Regions from separate parts of the Homo sapiens genome. Here all the other regions are linked to region 1. Evidence: promoter capture Hi-C in 16 types of primary human blood cells and fetal thymus (Javierre and others, 2016). All regions are on one chromosome and are shown on one strand. The core of a region is centred on a gene start or on the middle of the fragment in contact, and the rest is flanking DNA. Distances in the headings are between cores, read along the strand shown. Region 1 holds the start of MRPS18A (mitochondrial ribosomal protein S18A). Region 2 holds the start of CAPN11 (calpain 11). Region 3 overlaps TMEM63B (transmembrane protein 63B). Region 4 has its middle 26 kb from the start of SCIRT. Region 5 has its middle 6.8 kb from the start of SCIRT. Region 6 overlaps SCIRT (stem cell inhibitory RNA transcript). Region 7 overlaps SCIRT (stem cell inhibitory RNA transcript).

Region 1 (2,643 bases), core at 56-2,555:
ACTATTTCCATCTCTTCATCAACTATCTCTTTCATTTCTCCAAACTGGATTCCTTGTTTGCCACTCTATTGAAATTGCTGTTTGAAAGCTACAAAGAGACCTCTTCTGAGACAAATCCAATGGCCCCTTCATTAGGCCCTTTTTAGACTTTTCTGCTCCCTCTGACAACAATGATCACTCTTTTCCACTGGATACTTCTCAGCTTTCGTTAAAGGATATGCTGCCCAATACTATGCCAGATCCTCAAAAAACCCCACATCTCTTCTTTTGCACATCACTCATCCTTTCCTGCTTCCAGGAGTACACAAAGGAAGGCTATGTCCTAAAAGACCGTTTCACTCTCCGCCAGATTCCATCCTTTTGTGAGCCTGCTCAAGACACATCCTCTTTATGAAAACTTCCAACTGGGTTTGCCGTTTCCAGTAACTGAGTCTCCCTGTACTTCGTCACGTAAAAGGCTAACTTGCATTTATTGGAGTGTGTATATACATAATCTCATTAGAACCTAAGCTTTTCAGAAAAAGGGCTGTATTTTCTGTCTCCAGAATTCCTTCACAGCTTGAAGCATAGCACTTGGCATTCAGTAAACTCTCAGTTGATGCTCGAATCAGGCCGCTTTCCCAGATTAAGATTAATGAAAAGCTGAACTACCATCCTGCATTTGCCTATGTCTCAGCTATTCAATGGCCTTTCCACTTTGGCCTCCCCCTCACAGGGAGACTAGCGGCCCGGGGCAGAGAACGCCGCCATCAGATCACAGCATTTTGAGAAGGGAAAGTGGAAAGGGAGGCTCTGGGAGGGTACCCAGATGGCCTTCCTTCGTGATCCAGAGACTCTTTAATAAAAGAGACTGCGATTCGGAGAACATGGAAGGAAGAATTAACATGCAAACCCTTTCCGAAAACTTTTCTGAGCCCTAGGACAGGTTTAGTGTCTGCTCCTGCTAAGTAAGCAGGCTTTTCTCTCCGTCCTCCTCCGCCTTGTGAAGATACTCACAAGGGGCAGGAGATCAAGATAAGGCACCAGGGTGTGGAAGGGGCTTTTAAGCACGCCTGGGGAGCCGGTACCTCCAAAGTTTCAGAATCGGACGAAGGAAAGGTAGGAAGGAGCGCACCGGGGCTGGCGGAAGCAGTCTCTGCCGCTCTTCTTAATTTCAGGAGGTTGCTGGGACGCATGACTCACCTTCCCTGAACCCGCGAGCTGGAAGCCGAGACCAGCTGGTCGCTGCCGGGCCCGCTAGTAGCCCACGGAGAAGCCGCCCACAGCCGGACACCAGAGCCTTGAGGGCCGCCATCTTCAAAAACCTACCCTGACCTCTCGTCCATTTCCGCTTCCGGAACGTAGCGCCCGCCGCCGCAGTGGTGGGGCAGGAACGGCGGGGCGGGGTTGTAGTTCGCTTGCTCCTGTCACATCATTTCTCTCACCTGTCCGCTTTGGGATACGAAGAGAGGCTTCTGCGTCAAGCCTATATTTCGTGTTAAGGATCTAGGGGAGGTCTTCTAGCTCCTGTCTGCCAATGCCTACAAGTCTTCAAGGTTGCATTCGTTTCCTGGAAGGCTTCCTTAGGAAAATCGCACGCAACACCCCACCTATGTCTTTAAAGCTTTCTCTTCACTGCACGTGAGCTGTGGACTTTTAGCTTCTGTGACTGGGGCTAGACCTCTACGGGAGAGGCTGAAATGGTTAGGAACTCTGGCTCTGGAGTATCGGATATCAGGCAGACCTGGGATAGAATTGATACCCCCTTCTTCCCTGACCACTGCCACACTGATCTTTGATTTGCATATACTTAGACCTCTCTCTAGCCCCAGGGCCTTGATACAAGCTATTTCCTTTGTCTGCTCTTTAGCTGTCTAGTTAGCTTCTGCTTATTTCTTAGAGCTCACCTCAAACCTTATTTCCACAGTTTTGCTTGACTGCCCATTCTCAGCACCAGATGCCTCTCCATCTTAGTGCTTGGGACAATTTCAGTTTTATGTTTGTTTTGTATGTGTCTTCTCACCAGACTGTAAGCTCCATGAAGTCAGGAACATTGTTTTCTGTTGACTCGCACATCTCCAGCACTTAGAATAGTTCCTGACACATAATAAGAGTACAATATATACTTGTTGAATGAATGAGTAGAATCTATTTTATAGGGCCTAGGGGAGGACTAGACCCTGAAGATTAGATGTGATAAAACATAAGTGATCGGCCGGGTGTGGTGGCTCATGCCTGTAATCCCAGCACTTTGGGAGGCTGAGGCGGGTGGATTACCTGAGGTCAGGAGTTCAAGACCAGCCTGACCAACATGGTGAAACCCTATCTACTAAAAATACAAAAATTAGGTGGGTGTGGTGGCGGGCACCTGTAATCCCAGACACTTGGGAGGCTGAGGCAGGAGAATCGCTTGAACCCAGGAGGCGGAGGTTGCAGTGAGCCAAGATCACACCATTGCACTCCAGCCTGGGCGACAAGAGTGAAACTCCGTCTCAAAAACAAAACAAAACAAAACAAAACAAAACAAAAGGGCTCAATAAACATAAGCTAGTTAATAGAGCAGTTATGGAGATGACTCTTTTCACAAGTTGGACTCACTTGTGTTGTAAGGAAGCTTATGGTACCAAAGAGAAAATACAACTGCCAGTTTTTCCTCTTTCAGAT
Region 2 (2,643 bases), core at 37-2,536, 470 kb after region 1:
AGCTGGGCATGGTGGTGGGCACCTGTAATCCCAGCTACTTGAGAGGCTGAGGCAGGAGAATCGCTTGAACCCGGGGGGCAGAGGTTGCAGTGAGCTGAGATTGCACCACTTCACTCCAGCCTGGGCAAAAGAGCGAGACTCCATCTCAAAAAAAAAAAAAAAAAAAAAAATCTGAAGTTATTAGTTTAAATCCTGGCTCGACCGCTTAACAGCTGTGTGACCCTGGGCAAGTTGCATCATACCTCTAGACCTCACTTTCCTCATCTATAAAATGGGAATAGCAATGTCATGGCCTCTGGCTGTTTTAAGGATTAAATAAGTAGGAAGTTCTTAGCCCAGTGTTTGGCACATAATAACAAACCATAATTAATATTCTCGTAGATGAGGAGATTGAGTCCCAGAAAGGAGAAAGGGGGAGGGCTCGCCCAAGGTCAGCTCCTGTTTCAGAGCTTGGAACAAGGTTCTCTGATCCCATTGGGTGCTCTCACACCTGTTCTGTGCCTGATTAGCACCAGGCAGGGCTGAGGGGCACTGGGATGACCTTGACAGTCCCTGTCCTCAGCCATCATACACTCCAGAGAAGACTGCACTCTGGAGCAGAGTTCTTAGCTCAAAGCATTCCCACTTTCCAGTGCAGAGGCAGGACATGTGGTCAGACCAGTGGCCTAACCTTGCCAGACTGGGGCTAGGCAAGGAGAGTGTTGCAGGTGGAATCGTGTCCCCCAAAAAGGCATGTTGAAGTCCTGGCCCCCAGTACTTCAGAATGTGACCTCATTTGGAAACAGGGTGGTTGCAGATGTAATTCGTTCAATTAAGATGAGGTCATACTGAAATGCATGGGACCCTAGCCCCATATGACTGGTGTCCTTATAAGAAGAAGAGACACAGAGGAGGGTGCCATGTGAAGACAGCAACACAGGAAAAATGCCATGTCAGTGAGAAAGGGGCTTTTGGGAATGAGAAGGCTTTCTGGATGTAAAGGTCAGGTTGGTGTGTCAGGGACAACCCCTTCCTGGAAACCTTGGGCTGAAAAAAAGGGACTGGGACCTACCCTGATGGGATGACCGTGATACAGTGAGGACAGCCAGGCTGGTGGAGGCTGTGCAAGGCAGGGGTGCTGGGTCATCTGTCCCTAAAGCGGGTAGCCCTCAGCTGGGTAAGGGGCTGGGTTACTGAGAAGGAGAAAAGGGAAGGCAGCTGTTAAACCGGCTGCTGACCTAGGAATCCCACTGCAATGAGAGAGTTCTGGGGGGAGGGTCTCTTCTCCCCCTCCCACCAGAACCTTCAACTGTCAAGCACCGAGCTAGCCACCAGCATGCTGTACTCCCCAGGTAGGCACTCATGGGGCCTTGCCCCACTCCTGTACCTCCTGCAGGCTAGAGCCTCCCCCCAGGGGAGGAGCTGTGTCCCGCATCAGACTGGGTGCCCCTTGAGGGTACAGAGAGTGACTCTTCCATCAGACTGGATGCCCCTTGAGGGTACAGAGAGTGACTCTTCCATCAGACTGGATGCTCCCTAAGGACAGGACCTGGGCCTCGTTCTCAGACTGTTTGGGGAAGGATAGGCCACTGGTGGTCAGACTGGGTGGTAGGCCGGGCAGGAACTCTTTCTCCTCTCCACTGACAGTTGGAGTTGGGGAGAGGAGAGGGGCCGGCCATCCCACTGTCATGGCTGCTGGGGAAAAGGGTTTGTGTGAAAAAGCCCACGTAGAGAAGAAAACTTTAGGGAACAGAGAGAACCTCTCCTAAGCCTAGAAAAGCAGGTCCCTCAGCCCAGGAAGATGAGATCCTCAGGGTGGCAGGGGCAGGACTACCTGAGGCAAGCCTGGGACCAGACTCCAGGAGATGGGGGAGAGTGGGCTGGGGGGAAGGGGAGGGCTGGGCAGAACTGAGTTGTTCCTGTGGGGCTAGGGTGCACAGAGGGCAGCCAGCCTTGGCCAGCAGAAGGTCAGCCCTGTACCTCACCCTCAGCCTGGGGCACCGTGAGACCATGGGCCCCTAGACCCAGCCTCCCAGCTTCTCAGGCCCTCCCTGTTTACCTGACCCTAGGAAGTTTAGGCCTAGCTGGTGACCCCAAACCCAGTCCTTGTTCTTCAGAAGTGCCCTGAGCCCAGGAGTTCAAGACCAGCCTGGTCAGCATAGCAAGACCTCATCTCAAAATATAATTTATTTATTTATTATTATTACTTATTAGTATTTATTTTTTTTTAAAGTTCCCTGACACAACATCTTAGTTTTTTCCCAGTGCCGGAAATCAAACTGTCCTTAAATCTATAGTCCCCTAATAACAATGTATTGCATTTAGAAAATCACTGAGAGAGGCCAGGCACAGTGGTTCACGCCTGTAATCCTAGCACTCTGGGAGGCCAAGGCAGGTGGATCATCTGAGGTCAGGAGTTCGAGACCAGCCTGGCCAACATAGTGAAACCGTGTCTCTACTAAAATACAAAAATTAGCCATGCGTGGTGGCGGGCGCCTGTAATCCCAGCTACTCGGGAGGCTGAGGCAGGAGAATCTCTTGAACCCAGCAAGTGGAGGTTGCAGTGAGCCGAGATCGTGCCACCGCACCCCAAGCCTGGGCGACACAGCGAGACTCCATCTCAAAAAAAAAAGAAAATCACTGACAGTAGATTTTAAGTGTTCT
Region 3 (2,643 bases), core at 51-2,550, 440 kb after region 1:
CCCACCCTGCCTACTACTACTTTTTTTTTTGAGATGGAGTCTCACTCTGTCGCCCAGGCTGGAGTGCAGTGGCATGATCTAAGGTCACTGCAACCTCTGCCTCCTGGGTTCAAGTGATTCTCCTGCCTCAGCCTCCCGAGTAGCTGGGACTACAGACGCATGCCACCACACCCAGCTAATTTTTGTATTTTTTTAGTAGAGACGGGGTTTCACTGTGTTGGCCAGGCTGGTCTCGAACTCCTGACCCTGTGATCTGCCCAGCTCGGCCTCCCAAAATGCTGGGATTACAGGTGTGAGCCACCGTGCCTGGCACCTACTACTACTTTTATGCTCACTTGTGGATATATTCTTGCCTTTCTCTCTGAAGTGGGTAGGGGTAGAGTAAGGATATTTGTATCTCTTTGTTACAGATTGGAAGACTGAGACTCAGGTTTCGTAGTAACAGAGCTCGCTTCCATCTTCCCCTCCTCCCCTCAGACCACATGGCCTTGCTTTGATCCAAAGCCCTAACTTAAATCTTGCCCAGTAACTCCACTGAAAAAGCTTATATCACTCCTGTAATCCCAGCACTTTGGGAGGCCGAGGTGGGCAGATCATGAGGTCAAGAGATCGAGACCATCCTGGCCAACATGGTGAAACCCTGTCTCTACTGAAAATACAAAAATTAGCTGGGCGTGGTGGCATGTGTCTGTAGTCCCAGCTACTCAGGAGGCTGAGGCAGGAGAATCCCTTGAACCCAGGAGGCAGAGGTTGCAGTGAGCCAAGATCGCGCCACTGCACTCCACTCTGGTGACAGAGCGAGACTCCGTCTCAAAAAAATACACAACAACCCCCCCAAAAAAAAGCTTATAAGTTATAGCTCTCCAACCCCCACCATGCACACACTCCTTAATGGTAAAATTAAAAAGTTAGCTAGAAGTAAAATGCTCCATCACTCTCTGGACACACCTCAACCAAAACCTCAATATCAGACTAGAGAAACTGGGATATAGCTGGTGCAGGCACCTCGTGGAGTGGAAGAACTGCCACCTCCCATCCCCAAGGTATTCTGCCTCAATGTCTTCCCTCTTCTCAGTTGCTCAGCCCAGTGCTGGCTTTGAGAGCAGCTGCCCTTGATGAAACTCAACCCAGCAACCCCACCCCCACAATTAAAAGCTTGGAGCAGCCCTGTCAACTGGCAGAGCTGCCAGCCCAGGCTCCACCCCTTACCTGTCCTGTCACTGTGCAAGTTGCTTCCCCTACTGGGTTCCTGCTTCCTCCCTGTAAAATGGGGATAGTGATCTGAGTGTGCCCTGCCTTCCTCCCATGCAGGTGGGAAGATTAATGCTGTTGTGGAGGGGAGAGTACTTTGTGACCCCAAGGAGGCGGACAGCAGAGGAGCATGGTGATTTCAGTTACTAACCATCTAGCTAGATCCTGTCCACCCTGCTGGGGCCACTTCATGTAGAAGCTTCCAAAATGCTCTACCTTTCTTTGGTGTGGAGAAGACAGGAGTTGATAGGAATGGTACTCTGGGGCTTGTTCTCATTTCATTCTGATCTGATGGAGCCTTGGAATTCAGAGAGAGAAACAGGCAAGGGGTGGGAATAGAGTGTTGAGATTGCTGGAGTACATTGGAGTTGAGAATTGAGAAAGGGGGACTAGTTAGAGTCCCCCCAACCCAAGATACCTATACCTACCTTTAACCTCCCATAGTGCCCCAGGGTTCTGTGCATCTTATGTTTACATACCCGGGCTCCCAGACACACCCATGTTCACACCCCCACTTCGAAGCCAACAACTCCCTTCATTTCCGTGGACTGCCATGCAGTCACCTAGCTCCTCCTGGACACAGGTCCACACATCAACACACATTTACATACCTGGACACACACATTTCCACAGCACCCACAGGTTCTCTGGCCTGAGAACATTTAATGAGCATTTATAAAGCTTCCATGGTCTGCCGAGTCCTGTTCTAGGAACATCAGAAAAGCACCGTGGTGCCCTGAAAATCATTCTAGCTTTAGAAAGAAGGTGAGCTAGGTTTGAGTCCTAGGTCCCTCATTTTATTAGCAGTGTGACCTTGGGAAAGTTACTTAACCTCTGAGGCCCTGTGCCCCCACCCTAAAATGTCAGTGACACTCAATTCAGGATCGTCGAGGATTAAATGAAATCATGTAATATATTATTCTTGAAACTGAGGGCACTGGACAAATGGTACCCAATACAATTACTAAATTAGTGTGTTTTTAAAGGCAGCTTGGACTGGAAAAGGAAGAGGCATAACACACCAGCACACACTCCTTTAGTCTTCCTAATCCAGGCTTTGCAGAGACTCCCTGGGACCAAGTGAAACACATAAACAACTCCATCCTCCCCTCCATCTGAGGGCTTCTGCCTCTTGCCCTGTGGTTGAAGTGTTAGGAAGAGGCAGGAGAAACCCTCTGAGTCCCCCTGGGGGCTAAGGGATGCTGCTCCCGAAGTTGCAGTCACTGTTTCTAGTTTTGTTGTTCTCTTTGGTTTTCCTTTTTCTTCCCTGAGGACCTCCTCCCCTGCTCCACAGCCCGCCCCCGAGGCAGAGCTTCAGTGTTGTCAGCAGAAGGGTCCCCCAGGGACCCCCCAGTAAAATGGGTGGGGCAGTGCTGCATCTGTTGAGGCCAC
Region 4 (2,643 bases), core at 98-2,597, 410 kb after region 1:
CACCACTGCACTCCAGCCTGGGTGACAGAGTGAGACCCTGTCTTAAAAAAAAAAAAAAACAAAAAACCCACAATAATGTGTGAGGTATATCACTCTTCAACAGGCTTTTTTCCATTCAACAATATGTCTTGGAGAGCTACATCTATCTATACCTACACCATCCTTTCTTGGAACAGTTGTGTGCTACTCCATGGCACACATGGACTTTGCTTATTTACCCAGGCCCCTACTGATGGCTATTCAGATTGTTTCCAATTCTATTAAAAACAGGCTGAAACGAGTATGTACAGACCTCTCTGGGCACTGTGGTATGTGCTCTGTGCAGGGCATGGACAGTCATCTCTTCTCATCTGTCACATTGTTAGCAAACACCTCTCACAGGGGTTCTCAACTTGGGAACCACTGGAGGTTTCAGGGGGACCTCAAATCCCTGAAATTGTACCCAGAGTAACCTATGTATGCCTCTGCATATATGCACTATCTGGGGAAAGGGTCCACAACCCTTAGCAAGTTTCAGGTTTTCGAAGGGCCCATAAAAGCTAAGAAGTACCGACCTGTATTAACTTTCATACCTTTATGTTCTGGCTCATATACGATGTTATGTGCTCAAAAGGACAAGCTGGGCAACATAAAGCCTCTTCTCCCCCTTGTTCTGCCAACAAGGATTCCATCTAGTGCTGAAAGAAAGGACCTCTGGAGTCAGACCCAGGCCTAAATCCTGGCTCCATCCATTACTATGCAATTTGGGGCAATTAATTAACAACCAAGCTTCAGTGTCCACAACACAAACTGAGGTGAGTAAAACCTGCTTCATAGAGTTGTTGTAAGGAGTAAACAAAATCCCTTGCGCCAAGCATCTAGCAGGCACAGTAGGTACTGCTATGCACCTGTGCCCTTGGTTTCCTTAAGTTCTGGCCAAGAGCTTTAGGCAACTGGGACCTTCTCAAGGGCAGGGACAAAGGCTCACCCAGAGTCTGCAACCCCCTTGAGCTCTGAGCCTAAATCTGTCATGGACAAATTAGGAGTGAATACACTGAGAAGAGTCCTTGTCCAGGCTCTCCAGGTCATACCACAGCAGTGCCACTAGGAGGCTGCAGGACAGGCCCTGGGACTGGAGAGACTCTGCAGGAGCAGCTCTGACTAAAATAGTGTGTGCATGCAAGTGTGCATGTGTTGTGTGCTCATATATGTTAAGTGTGTGAATGAGTATGCATGTCTGAGTATGAGCCTGTGTCTGAGTGTGTATGTGTTGGCATGTGTATGTGTGTACACGTGGGTTGGGAGAGGCAGAAACCAAAGGGAAGACAGGGTTTCCAGAGAGGCAGCAGCAGCCCTGGCTTCTCCCCTTGAGTGTCCAGGCTGCTGGAACAAATATTCCATTACCTACTGTGTGTTAAGCACTGCTCCTGTCCTTGAACTCACAGGAAGACAAAAACAAGACAGTTAGGTTCAAGCAATATTTCCAGGTGCCAGCATTGTTCTAGGCACTGGGGATACAAAAAGACACATTCCTTGCCCTCCACCAAGGTCAGACACGACACACCCCTGGAGTCGGTGGCACTTCAGTGAGTAGAGCCCTGTACAGGGCACCCAGGAAGAGCTGTGCTCAAGACCAGAAATCGTGGAGAAAGGCATAGTTGACCCTGTCCTGGGCAGCAAACCCTTTGAGAGGGGCCACATCCCCTACCCTGCCCTGCAGACTCAGACCCAAAATATCTCCAGCCACCTTCTCTCCTCCCTCACTTGGCCACCAAGCAATGCTGGACAGAACTCTTCTCTGTCGGGGGAGATCACGGGGCGTAGCGCCCTCAGTACACTGATAACCCTTTCTCCATCCTCACCTTCCCTCTGGCAGCTGGCCCCACCTTTCCCCTCCCACCCTTCCCCTCACTCCCAGTAGACAACCCCCCTTTCCCAACTAACATACAAGCTTACCTCTCTGAGCACCCAGTCCCCCCACCACGCTCAGGGAATGAGGTGCCCTTTCACTTGCTCAGATTCTCCTGCTTCCTGCTCTGCTGGGGTCTCCTTCTATCAGTCACCACTGACCCCCACCCCGACTTCCACTCACAAACAACCACCAACTATGGTGCAGTGGCACTGCAGCGCGGTTAGGCAGCCCAGCGTCACCGTTTCCCAGGCCTGGGACCTTAGACAAGTTACCCCACCTCTCTGAGCTTTGGTTCCTGTGCCTGTAGCACAGGGCGAAACCCAGTGATGCTGACAGAACCTACCTCATGAGGCCGCTGGGAAGATAAGATTATACTGGGCACATAAAATGCTTAGGACTGGGCTAGGAAGTGTTTAGTGAATGTGATCACTGCTGCTGTAAGCCCCTGACAGCACCCACAGTATCTGAAGGGCACAAAGCCTCTAGTAGATGGTCAGAAATAGAGTCCAGGGATGGCATCAAATAGTTGTTTACTTTCCCCATCAAATCAACCTTCGTCCAAGTCAGATAAGCCCCAGGGGTCCCCCCAGGGGTCTCCATGCAGAGCCTAGGCTCTCCATCAGGCAGCCTGATCCCAATTCCCTGGGTCTGGGCGTCACCGGACAGCCTTCAGGGTAAAATGCAGATCATACTAGTGGGCCTTCTCTTGATGATATTGATCTCTTAGTAACTTACTGTGCCAACATATTCTT
Region 5 (2,643 bases), core at 95-2,594, 390 kb after region 1:
TATAGGCAGCCAGGGTTGAGAATGGGTCCTCTAGGAGTTCCCCATCTTCAGACTTCCCAGCCCTCTAGAGGTCAGCTCCCCAGGGCTCCCCTCTGTCCTAAGGGCTCTCCAGATAAACTTTTTTTTTTTTTTGAGACGGAGTCTCGCTCTGTTGCCCAGGCTGGAGTGCAGTAGCGCAATCTCAGCTCACTGCAAGCTCCGCCTCCCGGGTTCACGCCATTCTCCTCCCTCAGCCTCCTGAGTAGCTGAGACTACAGGTGCCTGCCACCACACGTGGCTAATTTTTTTTGTTTTTTTTTAGTAGAGGCGGGGTCTCACCGTGTTAGCCAGGATGGTCTCAATCTCTTGACCTCATGATCCGCCTGCCTCAGCCTTCCAAAGTGCTGGGATTACAGGCGTGAGCCACCGCACCCGGCCCAGAGAAACTATCTTAGCTTGTCTACCCAGACCCACAAGAAGCTGCCTCCCAACCACCCAAGGGGACACAGGCCCATCAACCCTTTCCAGAGGGGGCACAGTAGGCTTGAGACTCTTGAGTCTCTGACCCCCAGCCTGGCCTCTGGGGTGGGGGGAGAGAAAGTCATAGGGAGCTTAACCTCAACAGGATGAAGGCGCCATAATTAGGGTCAGGCGGTTGGCTCAGCCTGCGGAAATCCCCAGCTTAGTAGGGATGGGGAGTGGCACTGCAGCCTGCGGGAGGGTTCAGGGCAGAAGTGAGGGGGCAGGGGGAGCCCAGGCACATGGAAACCCAGGACCTAGGCCCCAATTGCATCCTGAGAGGGCCCACTGGGGGCTTCTCAACACAGTTCACTCCCTCCCTGGGGTTGCTGAACCCCAGGGAGGGAGGGAAAGGCTGACCAGCCCCCCAACCCCAGAGACCCTACTGCTCCCTCAGGCTGGGGTGCATCAGGATCATCCCCCTACCCCAGCCTTTGTCAGGAGGAGGAGGGCACCGGTGGGAAAAGGCTACGTGAGTGTTCCCAGGGCGACCCAGGCTTTTCTCCTGACTGTAATCCTCAGGCCTTGAGAGAGGGATCGCTTTCCACTGTGGAATGTAACAAAGGGGACAAAATGGGGCAGGGGAGGGGGGCAGAAGCCAGGGAGGGAAGCTTGCAGGGTGGTACTTTTAGCCCCCAAAAGGCCCTCCAGGAGGCAGCTGCACAGAGAGAACCCCCCTGCCCCCATGACTCCCTGAGCCTGTCATCCAGCTCACCCCAGGGCACAGGGTCTCATCCTGGGTTGTCCAGGTGTCCCCCCGCAGACTCCTGCCATGAATCCCAGTGCAGGGGGATTTGGATGATCACCTTTGCCAGCCACTCATTTTGCAGGGGAGGAAATATTCCAAGAGATGAAAACTAGCCAAGACCACGCAGCACCAGAACCACTCCCAGAAGCCCCGGCTTCCCCAGAGACTGCTTCAGTGAGCCGGCAAAAACTGAAGCCTGCAGCCTCAGGAGTTCCCACACACACCTAGGCCAGAATCCCTCTGCCCCGCAGCAGGACACCCCTCCCTCTTGCCCTCCAGGGTCATGGGCTAGACATGGCAAGGTAAGCAGAAGGCAGATGCATACTAGTCCACACAAGCTTGTGACGGCTGGGACTAGGGGCCAACCTAGTGGCTCCCACGTTGAGAATCAACGCCAATTCCAGGAAGCCTTCCCGGCTAACCCCCAAAAAGCTGGCAATACTTCCCTCCCACAACACAGCCTTGGCTCTCGAAGGCTGTCCTCTCCCCCAGCCTCACTCTGACTCATCATGTAGGTCCCGCATGGGCCTCAGTTCTCCTGGCCATGGGCTCTCCCCATACCTTAACCTGGGAACCGTTGTGGGCAGGACCATGTGGGACAAAAAGGTCCTGTGCCCAACCCAGCACCAATCACAGGGAGGCCTGGGGATAAGCAGGGGCTCTTGGAAAGGGGGCAGAACTCAGCTCAAGTCACAGAACCTGGGAAGGACCTTCAGTGGAAAGCCGCTTCAAATGTCATCTGGGATGAGCATGGTGGCTCACACCTGTCGTCTCAACACTTTGGTGAAACTGAGGCTGGAGGATTGCTCAAGGCCAGGAGTCGAAGACCAGCCTGGGCAACATAGCAAAACCTTGTCTCTCTGTGTATTTTTTTAATATTAAAAAAAAAAAATTTAAGGTCATCTGGTCCAGTCCCTCGTGCCTCCCAGTTGGGAGGCACTGAACTTCTCAACACTGCAGAAACAGGCATCTCTTCATATATTTAGTCATTCAGTCATCCATCCAATGAACCTTGCCCAACTATCTTCTACATCTCCGCAGCCCAGGCAACCCAATCCATTCTCAAGGCACAGACTAAATCCTTACCAAATAGAGTCAAGGGTCCATCCATTTCCTCTCCTGGGCCTAACATGGTGCTAAGTGGAAGTAAAAGGTGCTGATCAGCAACGGCCACCCACTTTTATGTTGCACGGTGGCATTCTCACCTGGCTTGCACATCACCAGGTGATGTTCATTTCAGACTCAGCCACCATTCCAGACAGGTTGTCCCTCACTGGCAGATGGGAAGCTGAGGCTGAGCAGGTGAAATGGTCTTGCAGCTGGAAGAAAGGTAGGGCCAGGACTTGGCCCAGGCAGCTAAGCTCCCAGCCCCAGATTCATTTTACACACCCACTCCC
Region 6 (2,643 bases), core at 39-2,538, 370 kb after region 1:
AAAAACCAAACCAAAACTAAACAGAGAATCAGTGTAGCATTAAATCCGTTGTCAGCCCAGACAAAACCCTTCTCTGTGCCTGGGATTCCTATAAAGTAAGGATACCCGTGGACCCCACCTCACCTGGCTGTTGTGAGTATTCAGCGAAAGGGCTACTGTAATGTGCTCATCACAGTGTCTGGCACAAGGCAAGTGCTCAGTAAGCAGTCAGTGCTATTATTGCTGCTGTTGAAATCCTGCCCTGGGGTGTGAGGAACAAGAAGCTGCCACTTGATTGGTCTGTGGCATGAGTTAGGGAAAGAAACCTGGACTCCTCACTCCAGAATAATATCTCCAGCGCTTTGGGGACCTAAAGGACCAGGTAATGCCTTGGGAGCACCACACCATAAACACACATCAGGATCCTGACGGCATAAGATGGAATGGGGGTAGTAGGGAGACCTGGCAGGGTGGGGGCAGCCAAGGCTTAAATTTTGGTACCACTGCCTGGGACCCCTGGAGGGACAGCTGTCAGGTCAGGCCCTGACCCCCAAGCTCTCCTCCTTGGCCAGGCCAGGTCCACATTTGGTCACAAGAAGCTGGCAAGAGGCCAGACAGGGCCGCAGATGCCATGGAGAGGGCAAACACAGGCCCGACGGAAAGGGGGAAAAAATCGGGCTTGTTCTGCCTGGGCAAGAGCAGGCTCAGGGGTGACATCAACGCCATGATAAGCAGTTAGATGAGTTAATGCCCAGGGATGCTTTTCCTGAAGTTCCCCAGAGAAAGTTGGGGGTTAAATGATGAGTGTGTTGGCAGATTTGTACCCTCAAAAAATTACGAGTGTGACCACTGTTAACAATGAGCAGGGACTTTAAGAGGAGAACTAAGGAGCTGTCATTTCTCTCTGGAGAAGTGAAGGAGAAGAAATGATCTTACATTAAAGTAAACACGATTCCGGATGACCTAAGGGAGAATTCTGACTGCCCATGACATGAGCTCTCTGTGTGCAAGGAGCTGTGGACTGAGTCCAGAACTGAATAGGGCACACAGCTTCAGTGGCCTGTCCTGAAACCCCAGCACAGCCTCCAAGTTCTGGGCTTCTGTTCCCACCTGTGTTAAATCAGACAAGGTAACGATTATGGATAGGGATTTAGGAATCATACAGAGATCAGTTTGAAGGCACTTTGGACAAGTTACCTAACTTCTCTGTCCTTTGTTTCTTCCTCTGTTTGGAAGAAAAAAAAAAAACAGAACTGGGTGCAGAGGGTTGCTGGGAAGATTAATTCAGTGGATGCCAGCTTAGAGCCTGGCACCCAGGACGAGCTCCATAAATATTCTCCAGTGGGGCTATTTTTCTCCTGTCTGGGCAGGGATTGGACAGTATCTCTTGAGTTCTTTTCAAGTCTAGAATGCCTTGATTCCACAATCCTGTGACTCACTGATTCTGCTTCTGGGGTCTGAGGACTGGGATGAGTTGGTTGCACAGCTCTGCCCTGCAGGGCCCAGGCCCAGCACCTGGACATAGCCCAGCCTATAGTCTGCACCATTTTATTTCTACCAGTGGACTTTGCCTTGCCCATCATGTGCCCTCAGCCTCATGGGCAGCCTTGTGGCCACAGGTGGCCCTGCCAGCTGTCCCTGACCTCTGCTCTGCACCTTCACCTGGAGCAGGGCAGTGCAAGCCCCTCCGGCTAACTCCTTCCTCACACCTACATTCCCCTGACAATGTCACATGCTGTGCAAGTTGGCAGGGCCAGAGGGGCCACAGATGCCAACAAAAACACCATTCCTGTGGAGGGAGAAGAGCCCATGGGTGTTATTTTTAACCTGCTGATTAGAGGCCACAGCTCTGCCCCTGGGGGTCCTGGGACTAAGGGCTCTGAGGGGCATGTGAGTTGTCAGGCCTCACCTCAATGACTCCCAAGGGTATTGGGCTGCAGAAACCCCAGCCCTTCTACCACTTTGATGGAGAAGTGGGAAAGGGAGACACAGATCAAGACATGCCCCATCTTGCCCACTGGTTTCAACTGGGGCTGAACCCAGCCAGGAAGAGCAAATGTGCCACGAATCACAGAACATTAAACCTAGAGATGGGTCCTCTCCAGTCCCTGCGTTATACAGATAAGGAAACTGAGACCTGAGGGAGGAGGCCCAAAGTCACACTGCTGGTCAACACTAGCTTCCTACCCCCTTGCCCACCTGTTGTAGACCTGGAGTTTGACAAGGACATTTCTATAACTCTCCAAGGCCACATCCTGGGGGTCACCTTGCTCCACCCTCTGTCCAGGTGACCCATCTTGCCTCTGCCCTCTCCCCAGTCTGCCCTACCCCAATGGGCTGAGCTTCTGACAACCCCATGATGAGGGCTCCAGGCCCTGGCTCACCCTGCAAGGACTTCCTAAGTGCCCAAGCAGTGCCCCCTAGAGGCCAGTGGCAGCACTGATCAGCACAGCGGGCAGCGCCATCATGGCTGGAGGCCCAGGCGAAGACGTGCAGGCCAGGGCGTGCCTGTGTGGGGGGAACAGGACCGAGCTTCTGCCAAGGGCCCGCTGCCGGCTGTTGCTGAGCTTGTGCTCGCCAGAGGGGTGGGGGCGGCAGGCAGACAATGGACCCCACGGCCCAGCCTCCTGGCCTTGGCCCCTTGAGCTGGGCAGGCAGCCGCTG
Region 7 (2,643 bases), core at 40-2,539, 340 kb after region 1:
ACTTTTCCACAGGAAGCCACACAAGTCAAGAATCCACCATGATTTTGCAAGATGGCTCCAGGGAAAGCCCTCCTGGGTTGTGCCTCAAATGCCCAAAGGGCTCCTCATTCTGCCATGCACCCCACCTCATTCTGAAGGCCTAGCCCTCATTGTGTGTGCACATCCAACCTCCAGGGCCCATCTTGCCTCTTTCTATCCAAGTCCCTGCCTTTAGTGCCTGCCCAGGGTCCTGGATCCCCCAAGGCTGGGACCCGCCTTGCTCTTGCCTTTCTTGTCAGAAGCTGTACTTCTGTCCTTAGCCCCAGTCTGATGGCAGGAGACCCTTCCTGCTGACCAGTCTTCCCACTATATTCCCAGTCTCCCATGGCTGGGAAATAGGGTTGGCTTCAGTTGTCCCTACTGGGATGCACCAAAAGTAGCAGGAAAAGATTCAAGAACCCTTTAATGCTCACAGCTTCGTCAGCATCCAGACGTCGTTCAGTCCCCTGCCTCCAGAGCAGGGTGTCCACCACTCACTCTTGCTGGCCTCCTGTCAATGGCTGACCATGCTCTTCTCACTTTGCCTAAAACTCAGTTTACCCCCACACCTGTCTATATGCTCTATTTTCTCTCCTGATGAAAGAGCGGAGAATGTGTCTATACTCACTCAGGTATACAACACAGTTACAAAACCACCTTCCTTCCTCTTAAATGACTGCATTAATTAAAGGTTTGTAGGCCTGGAAGATGCTAAGGTTCTAGGTCAAGGAATTTCCTCTTCTGTGCTCCTAGAGCTGACAGTTGTAAGGAAAGGAAGGGCAGCTCAGGGAGGACATCTAAAGGGCTCTCTTGTCTCCTGGTTACCTGGCCTCAGCACATCGCCCACACCCTCTGCCACTTCAATCCCTGCCCAGAGGGGACAGAGGGGACACTGGAAAATCCCCTCCCTCCCTCCCTCTAACCCTCTCCTCTCTCCAACAAGCCCTGGGCACAGCAATGTTCACCCAAGAGTGATGCTGAAGTCAGCCAGGTTCCTAAGAAAGGGTCATGGCCAGAGGACTTCGAAACTGCTTCAAGAAATGGAGGGAGGGTGCGGTGACTTCATATGTTTAGGACCAAAGAACAGTCCTAGGGATGCTGGAGGAGATAGGGGGGAGGACGTGGTCACTGCTTTCAGAAGCTGCTGCATGAAGGCTGCATGCTGCAAATGTTAAGAAATAGCCATGCCAGGCTGACATCTTCCTGACCTCCTGCCACCTTCAGGGCTCTCCTTTAGCCTCCCTGTCCTAGTGTAAGAGTAGCCACCTGTGCCTGCATTGAGTCCACTAGCCTGGGAGAGGCCCAAAGTTCTGGATCATGCCTCCCTCAAAAGACTGGGGCTCAAGATAGTCCTGAGGGTGACAGAGGTGCAGGGCTTCCTCAGGGGGCAAGCAGAAGAGTCCTGGTTTTCTTCCAAGGACCCCTGCCCCCTGCTGTTCAGTCCTCTCCAGCCCCCAGGGCTTCTCAACCCCCTGCTCGTCTCCACATACTCTGTCAGCCTTAAGGAGGCTCTTGTGGATCCTCATTCCTTCGGGACAGGAGGCCAACAGCTATGTCCTGAGCCTCAGCTCTTCCCTGGCCATGCCCCCGCCTCACACCTCCAGCCCTGATTTTGTGCCTCTGCTTCCAAGGGAGGAAGATGAACGACGGAGGAAGTTCTGAGCTAAGGAAGGGAGTATTGATGAAAGTTGTGTTGACAAAAGAATGTGTCAAGACTAAGTATGATTCTTTCCAGAAGTACAAGAAAGCCAAATTCTGGGAAACTCAACATAACCTACTATATTAGCATGTAAAATAGATTAATTTTCCCAACATGTTTAATGGGGAGACTCTAAAAGCAGTCCCGTTAAAGTTGACGTCAGCTCTCCCCATAAACTATCACCATTAGTATTTAATATTGTTCTGCAATTACTTGACAATGCAGTTAGATGAAAAATAAAATAAGAGGTATAAATATTGTAAAAAGAAAGCAGTTATTATCATTGGATGATATTACTCTATACTTGGATATTCCAAGAGAATCAGCTAAAGAACTTTTAGTAATATCAGGAATTTATCAAAGTGGCTAGTTTAAAAACAAGATTTCCTAAATACAAGAAATAACTAATAAAAGAATATGGAAAAACATCCCATTAATAAGGTTAACAAAAACCTAACATAAAACACATAGAAAAAATGTGCAGATACATGGAAATAGCTGTAAAAGCTAAATGAGGGACATACACATAGACTTGAATCGATGGAGAAAGACCTTTTCCTTGGATAAAAAGTCAGTAATATTGTAAGCATGTCAGTGTCACCATAATTAAACTATAAATTCAGCATACTTCTGTACAAAATATCAGCTGCTTTTGGGGGATAATTTGACAAAATGATTACATACAAATTCCTCTGGAAAAATAAATATAAATGAATAGAACATTCCTGGAAGGAAAAATAAGTAAACTAACAAGGAAAGAGTAGCACTATAAAACATTTTTCAAAAATAGTATACAGCTACAATAATTAAAATAGTGTGGGACTGGTGCCTGCATACAGATCAATTGGAAAGAATAAAACAATTTTAAATAGGCCCAAATAAACATGAGAATTCAATTCAATAAATTGAGATACTAGTCAGATATT

The links. The method cuts DNA at HindIII sites, captures the fragments that hold promoters and counts their contacts. A CHiCAGO score of 5 or more calls a contact.
Region 2: a contact is called between the fragment with the promoter of CAPN11 here and the fragment with the promoter of MRPS18A in region 1, in 2 of 17 cell types (erythroblasts and endothelial precursors). The highest score is 5.6, in erythroblasts.
Region 3: a fragment that was not itself captured here is called in contact with the fragment with the promoter of MRPS18A in region 1 in 4 of 17 cell types (erythroblasts, non-activated CD4 T cells, total CD8 T cells and 1 more); the score reaches 6.9 in erythroblasts.
Region 4: a fragment that was not itself captured here is called in contact with the fragment with the promoter of MRPS18A in region 1 in 10 of 17 cell types (erythroblasts, neutrophils, monocytes and 7 more); the score reaches 9.6 in erythroblasts.
Region 5: a contact is called between a fragment that was not itself captured here and the fragment with the promoter of MRPS18A in region 1, in 17 of 17 cell types (erythroblasts, monocytes, megakaryocytes and 14 more). The highest score is 16.3, in erythroblasts.
Region 6: a contact is called between a fragment that was not itself captured here and the fragment with the promoter of MRPS18A in region 1, in 16 of 17 cell types (erythroblasts, monocytes, neutrophils and 13 more). The highest score is 16.7, in erythroblasts.
Region 7: a contact is called between a fragment that was not itself captured here and the fragment with the promoter of MRPS18A in region 1, in 5 of 17 cell types (erythroblasts, monocytes, endothelial precursors and 2 more). The highest score is 12.9, in erythroblasts.

The regions. Positions count from the first base shown.
Region 1 is chr6:43,686,486-43,689,128 of GRCh38, forward strand. MRPS18A (mitochondrial ribosomal protein S18A) reads right to left here and starts at 1,306. Exons shown (of 6, transcript NM_018135.4): 1 at 1,183-1,306. The coding sequence starts at 1,294. It overlaps LOC124901320 (a long non-coding RNA gene), which reads left to right and starts at 2,477. Exons shown (of 2, transcript XR_007059586.1): 1 at 2,477-2,643. RefSeq lists enhancers at 1,060-1,119, 1,065-1,676. The HindIII fragment of the contact is 1,093 bases long and covers 509-1,601 here.
Region 2 is chr6:44,157,534-44,160,176 of GRCh38, forward strand. It overlaps CAPN11 (calpain 11), which reads left to right and starts at 1,287. Exons shown (of 23, transcript NM_007058.4): 1 at 1,287-1,331. The coding sequence starts at 1,316. LOC107986599 (a long non-coding RNA gene) reads right to left here and starts at 1,070. Exons shown (of 3, transcript XR_002956350.2): 1 at 1,052-1,070. RefSeq lists an enhancer at 2,464-2,633. The HindIII fragment of the contact is 9,288 bases long and covers 1-2,643 here.
Region 3 is chr6:44,130,906-44,133,548 of GRCh38, forward strand. The region is part of intron 1 of TMEM63B (transmembrane protein 63B); the gene reads left to right. Among named protein-coding and RNA genes, the nearest start is that of TMEM63B, 4.7 kb to the left of the region's middle. RefSeq lists a silencer at 256-415 and an enhancer at 2,260-2,643. The HindIII fragment of the contact is 295 bases long and covers 1,154-1,448 here.
Region 4 is chr6:44,099,163-44,101,805 of GRCh38, forward strand. No RefSeq gene overlaps it. Among named protein-coding and RNA genes, the nearest start is that of SCIRT, 26 kb to the left of the region's middle. RefSeq lists an enhancer at 1-44 and a silencer at 950-1,244. The HindIII fragment of the contact is 1,162 bases long and covers 767-1,928 here.
Region 5 is chr6:44,080,108-44,082,750 of GRCh38, forward strand. No RefSeq gene overlaps it. Among named protein-coding and RNA genes, the nearest start is that of SCIRT, 6.8 kb to the left of the region's middle. The HindIII fragment of the contact is 475 bases long and covers 1,108-1,582 here.
Region 6 is chr6:44,060,582-44,063,224 of GRCh38, forward strand. All of the region lies in intron 1 of SCIRT (stem cell inhibitory RNA transcript), which reads right to left. Among named protein-coding and RNA genes, the nearest start is that of SCIRT, 13 kb to the right of the region's middle. RefSeq lists an enhancer at 2,140-2,643 and a silencer at 2,286-2,355. The HindIII fragment of the contact is 3,500 bases long and covers 1-2,643 here.
Region 7 is chr6:44,029,761-44,032,403 of GRCh38, forward strand. All of the region lies in intron 1 of SCIRT (stem cell inhibitory RNA transcript), which reads right to left. Among named protein-coding and RNA genes, the nearest start is that of LINC03040, 30 kb to the left of the region's middle. The HindIII fragment of the contact is 6,000 bases long and covers 1-2,643 here.